Linked DNA regions of Homo sapiens: region 2 is linked to region 1. The links are contacts of gene promoters, found by promoter capture Hi-C in blood cells and fetal thymus (Javierre and others, 2016). All regions are on one chromosome and are shown on one strand. The core of a region is centred on a gene start or on the middle of the fragment in contact, and the rest is flanking DNA. Distances in the headings are between cores, read along the strand shown.

Region 1 (3,019 bases), core at 181-2,680:
TATCTTTTAGATTAACAAAGTGTTTTCCACAGTTAGAAATTACTGCTCTCTCTAACCTGTTAAAGCAAGAAAAATTCAATTTTAAAATACTGCCTCAACATCTGTATTTAATGCTGTATCAAATATACATTTGCTTTAAAGTTAAAATTAGAGGATACAGAATAAGTGTGGCTAACAAACTCAACAAACCACATTTACCTGTTGATTTCATCTAATGAGGTAAGTTTAGAAAGCACAATCGTCATTCTACCCCTTCCAGATGCTGAACTTCTAATCCAAAAATCAGACTCACCTCGACAAGCTTCTTCAAAATCTTGGGTAATGTCCACCCAGTTTGTATTGCTTTTCTCCATTTTTTCTGGCATACTGAGCTCCCATCCTGAATCGTCATCATCTACAGAAGCTTTCATAACCATTATGCCTGTAAAATTAATACTGATGTAAGAGAGAGGATGTAGCTTTCAGGGCAAGAGTATTTGCAGAAATGGGTGTTTGTTTCAGCATAGGATGAAGTCTTAACTAAACTCTTTAAAGCAGAACTCTTCTGAGTCTAAGGACAGTACTGCAAAGAATAACCTTAATGCAATCAAATCGCACGTCAATTAACACTCCTGCTGCTTACTATTAGCCCACCACCTACCAGGGCCCATAAACATTTTGCCTTCCTACTGTTTAAGAAGAAAAATCACAAACCATCTCACCTCTGGCCCGAAAAGAACAACTCCAGAGCTTCCAACTTTCAATAATAGCCACAAAAGACCAAGGCACTATTCAGGGTCCCCTCTCGCAGCCCAGGACCCCATGCGGCAGCTACCGAAGTCAATCAAGGTAGCCCTTCATCTGGCCAGAGCTCGCTGGGACCTCTCCCGGGCCAGAGCCGGCCCGGACCCAGGCAGAACCTCGCCGGGAGCAATGAGGAGCCGGCAGGCACCGCAGGGTCCCGCCGGCCGGGCCTAGGGCCGAGGCACACCTGAGGCGGGCACACGCTTCCCTTCCGCCCTGCCCGGGTCAGCCCAGCCCAGCCCCGGTCCCACTGGGCGCATAAGCAAGGACAGAGCTGTCGCCGCGCGGGAGGGCGGGCACGTCCGGCGCCGGGTCGTCGCCTCGGCAACACCGGGCAAGAGTGGGGCCTCGGCCGACAGCGGGCACTGGGGAGCCCGCCGCTCCTACCTGACGCGCAGCGGGAGGGCCGGGGCCGCAGGGTGACCTGGGGTCCCCAGGATCTGCCACACGCGCGGGGGGCTGCGGCTCTCGGACACACGAGCGAGAGGGTTTCAATGGCTACGCAGGGGCGGTCCCTACCTACTTCTCCCGTGGTCACCCGCGCCGCCACGCACTGTCCGGACCACGGAAATAACGACGCCGCCTCGGCCGCCGCCGCCCCCTCCCCTCTCAGCCCAGCCCGACCGGCAGCGTGCACGCATGCGTATGCCCGGGACGCGCGACCCCGCCCCCTCTCCCTTACTCCCGGGGACTTCGCGCTCCCCGGCCACACCCCCTCCCTCGCCACCGCCTCCGTTCGGCCGATGGCGGCCGCCTTCTCTTCTCGCGAGATTAGAGACGATCGCGAGACCGGAAGTTATCTTTTTTCACCCTCTGTCGGAGTCCTGGGTAGTGGGCGGTTCCCGGAAAGAGGCGGAGCCCGGAGTCTCAGAGCCCGCCCCGTCTGCGCTGCCCTCTGGGAATTTCTTAGAAAGGTGACGCGAAGGCGGAAGGAAACCGTGGAGGTTTGCGTAGACCTTAGTGGTTGCGAGCACGAACGAGCAGCCAAGCTCCGAGAGCAACAGCGTGCTACTGCTGCCTGACAACGGATTTATGTTTCCTATACAGCGCCTGGGAGTTTCGTGAGGAAACATAGATTCAAAATATCTGCAAAGTCAAGCCAGACATTTAATTTCAGATTCTTATATGTTTTAGATTTTTTTAATTTATTAATAAAATGATCAGTTTTTAAATGGGGTTACATAAATAGACGGGCGCAGGTAAGAAGCACATCTTTATCACCACCTGTTCTTTAGGATGGCCCAAAATTAAAAGATGGAAAAGATAATACCAAATGTTGGCAAGGATGCAGAGCAACTGGACCTCTGTTATGTTGGTGGTGGTAATGCAAAATGGTACAACCACTTTGGAAAACTTAACAATCTCTCCTTATAATCATATACTTATCATTCGATCCAGTAATCTACGAATTTACTTAGGAACAAAAACATATTCATACAAAGGCTTGTACGTTAATGTTCATACCAGCTTTGTTTTGCTTTGTTTTTGTTTTTGTTTGAGACAGAGTGTCACTCTTGTCGCCCCTGCTAGAGTGCAGTGACCTGATCTCGGCTCATTGCAACCTCTGCCTTTCAGGTTCAAGCAATTCTCGTGCCTCAGTCTCCCGAGTAGCTGGGATTACAGGCGCCTGCCCCCACACCAGGCTGTTTTTTGTATTTTTAGTAGAGATGGGGTTTCACCATGTTGGTCAGGCTGATCTCAAACTCCTGACCTCGTGATCTGCCCACCTCAGCCTCCCAGAGTGCTGGGATTACAGGTATGAGCCACCGTGCCTGGCCCAGCTTTGTTTTTAATCATCAAAAACTACAGACAACCCAAATGTCCATCAACTGTTGAATAAAAACAATTTGTGGCATATCCATACAATGTAATGAATGTAATTATCAATAAACAGGGATAAACTACTTGACATACAACATGAATGAATTTCAAAAATATATTGAGTAAAAGAAATCAGGCTGAGCTTGGTAGCTGGTAGCTCATGCGTGTAATCCCAACACTTTGGGAGGCTGGCAGTGGAGAGGTCGGGTTGGAGACTAGCCTGACCAATATGGTGAAATCCTGTCTCTACTAAAAATACAAAAAAATTAGCCAGGCATGGTGGCGTGCGCCTGTAATCCCAGCCACTTGGGAGGCTGAGACAGGGGAATCCCTTGAACTCAGGAGGCAGAGGTTGCTGTGACCCGAGATGGTGCCATTGCACTCCAACCTGGGCGACAGAGTAAGAAATCAAATG
Region 2 (3,229 bases), core at 390-2,889, 8.2 Mb before region 1:
GGCCAGTGTGTTTTAGAAGAAATAAGAAGCCTTATAGCACTATGAGCCCTTCTGACATTTTCTTCATATGTTCATCGGAAACTTCTTGGTGAGTTTGCAAAAGTGCATATGACATACATTACCCTTTACCTTCCTATCTGTGCTTCATTTTTTACCCTTGAAGGTCAACTAAATGACGCTAAAGTAGAATCCATTTGGAAAATGTTAATGGATTTGACAATATAAATGAAAACTGAATTTTAAAAACTTTGAAGTTAAAAGACAAAAATTGGAAATATTGTAAAAGTCTAAAAAAATCTCTAAGAGACAAAACATTAATTTGAATGTCCAGTGGTTAAAAGCAAGGATCTGGAACCAGACTACTAAGTGTGAATCCCAGTTCTGCCTCTTCCTAGCTGTACAACTATGTACCGGGCAAATTGTATATCTTTTCTGTGCCTCAGTTTCTTCATCTATAAAATAGGGATAACAATACTTACCTTACAGGCTGTTGAAAAGATTAATATAAACATCTTAAGAACTAAGAACAGTGCTTGGTACACATAAGTACTACATAAGCATTTGCTAATATGTTATCCTTAATAAAGTGGATTTTTTTTTTCAAATCAATAGGATAAAGTGAACACTCCTATTAAAATATGGACTGTTTAAAAAGGATGTGAACTGACAATTTACAAAAGAAAATGGCCAATAAATATGAAAAGATGCTCATCCTCACTAGTAATCAAATAAAGACAAAGTTTTAAACAATGAAAGCTTTCTTATCTCTTAGTTGATCAGTGGCATTGTAGAAGGAAACATTGGAGGCATTAGTATAAATTTCTGCAAGTCTAGGGGCCAATTTGGCAGCAAGAATCGGAATCTTTGAAAGTGTTCCTTAATCCAGCATTTTGCCACTGCTAGGAATTTATGCCTAGAAAATAACAGGACAAACATACAAAGATCCTCCACAGGCTGTTCATCATCTTGTTTATAGTAGCCTCAAATCACAACCATCTACCAGTACACCATAGGTGACTGCATAAATTACGGTCCAAACATGCCATGAAAAGGTATGATCGTGGCCAGGCGTAGTGGCTCACGCCTGTAATCCCAGCACTTTGGGAGGACGAGGCGGGGGGATCACTTGAGGTCAGGAGTTTGAGACCAGCTTGGCCAACATGGTGAAATCCCATCTCTACTAAAAATACAAAAATTAGCCGGGCGTGGTGGCGTGCGCCTGTAATCCCAGCTACTCGAGAGTCTGAGGTGAGAGGATCGCTTGAACCCAGGAGGCAGAAGCTGCAGTGAGCTGAGGTCATGCCATGGCACGCCAGCCTGGGTGACAGAGTGAGACTCCATCTCAATTGAAAAGAAAGAAGAATTTCAGCTTAAAATGTTCTTACTCCTTCAATAGAACCAAGATACTAATGGTTGACAAATATCTACAAGTCAAATCAAAGCATTTGTAAACAACAGGGGAAATAAAATTCATTGAGCTGGAACTTTGTCTTGCTCTCTCTTGTGCACCCAGTCACCACCACAGGGCCTAGCACCTGACAGGCATCCAAGAGATACAGACAAATAAGGCTGAGGCAGGAGAATCACTTGAACCCGGGAGGCAGAGTTTGCAGTGAGCTGAGATTGTGCCAGTGTACTCCAGCCTGGGCGACAGAGCGAGACTCCGTCTCAAGGGAAAAAAAAAGTTCTCATAGTAATGTAGATCTATGTTTATTGATACGGGAAGATTATCAGGATATACTATTTTTTTTTTTTTTTTTTTGAGACAGAGTCTTGCTCTGTCGTCCAGGCTGGAGTGCAGTGGCACGATCTCGGCTCACTGCAACGTTTGCCTCCCGGGTTCAAGCAATACCCTGCCTCAGCTTCCTGAGTAGCTGGGATTACAGGCTCCTGCCACCATTCCCAGCTAATTTTTGTATTTTTAGTAGAGACAGGGTTTCACCATCTTGGCCAGGCTGGTCTTGAATTCCTGACCTCGTGATCCACCCACCTCGGCCTCCCAAAGTGCTGGGATTACAGGCATGAGCCACAGTGCCCGGCCAGGATATACTATTAAGTGAGAAGTAAGGTTACAAAAAATTTGTTTGTCTTATAACAACAGTTAGATCTGGAATTACTCCTAACCTTTATTTTCTTTATATATATATCTGGATTCCTGGTAGTATGTATTGCTTTCATAACTAGGAAAAAATATAAAAATAAAAGCCATGCCAGTGACCGATAGTTGTTCCCCAATATCCAATGTCTCCTTTTTCTATAATAAACAGAAACCCAGTTTTTTGGTGATGGTAGACTTAAATTACTCCCTGACTGTACCTGTGTGACTAAGTTCTGGCTGGTGAGCTGTGAGCAGGATGGAAGGGGGTTCTGGATTCCCTCTGTCTCCCGCTTTCTGATTTCTAGCTACTTGGATGTGATTGGGGTGTGGTGGAGAGCCACTATGTCCACCAGTTGCAAGCAGCAGTGAAGAGCTAACCTGAGTCCCCTGGTAGCATCACAGGGCACCCTCTACACAAGCTTGGACTTTAAGTGAGAAAGACATGACTTCCATCTCATGTAAGCCCCTGAAATTTGGGTATACTTCTGCCGGAAGCTGGCCCGATGTGGTAGACATGCATGTAGGCATTTTGTGGAGAGAACATGCAGCCTTTGGAACAGAACAAACATGAGTGAATGTCCAGCAACTCCGTTTCCTAGGAACGGAGTTCCTTTGGATAGAGACTCCGTATTTCAGCTAGATCATACCTAGGAAAGTGATTTGGGATTGCTGAGTGATAAACAGCCTGGTTGTCATTAATGATCATTATTTGGCAAGGGTTAGGAAGAGCATGCATTTCGCTGTTTGTCTGGGGTCAAACAGAACAACCTGCTTGCAGAGCAAAGCAGCGCATGGTATTCCTTGGGTTCAAGTCCGAGCTTGCTCCCGTGTCCAGCCTGGGCCTCCCTCTCCATTCACCACTCCTGCCACTGCTCAGGTCACCTGGCATGCTTGTCCCATCTTCGTCTGGCTGGTCCTTGTCACCCAGATGGCACTTGAACCTCCCCTATTTAGGGAGGACTTTGCTGGCCACCCAGTGTAAATCTCCATCTTTAATGAGATTTCACCACTCTGTTTTTGTAACACTGTAACATTTTGGCACTCTCTGGCTCCATCTTGCTTGTTTTATTGATGTTCTACCCCCATGAGGGCGAGGAACTTGTCTGGCATGTTTTCACTACTGTATTTTAC

Evidence for each region. The method cuts DNA at HindIII sites, captures the fragments that hold promoters and counts their contacts. A CHiCAGO score of 5 or more calls a contact.
Region 2: a contact is called between a fragment that was not itself captured here and the fragment with the promoter of NAA35 in region 1, in 1 of 17 cell types (neutrophils). The highest score is 11.9, in neutrophils.

What each region holds. Positions count from the first base shown.
Region 1 is chr9:85,939,557-85,942,575 of GRCh38, reverse strand. It overlaps NAA35 (N-alpha-acetyltransferase 35, NatC auxiliary subunit), which reads right to left and starts at 1,430. Exons shown (of 23, transcript NM_024635.4): 1 at 1,303-1,430; 2 at 293-421. The coding sequence starts at 416. RefSeq lists a silencer at 847-1,526. The HindIII fragment of the contact is 5,629 bases long and covers 406-3,019 here.
Region 2 is chr9:94,161,490-94,164,718 of GRCh38, reverse strand. No RefSeq gene overlaps it. Among named protein-coding and RNA genes, the nearest start is that of MIRLET7A1HG, 3.2 kb to the left of the region's middle. The HindIII fragment of the contact is 1,761 bases long and covers 759-2,519 here.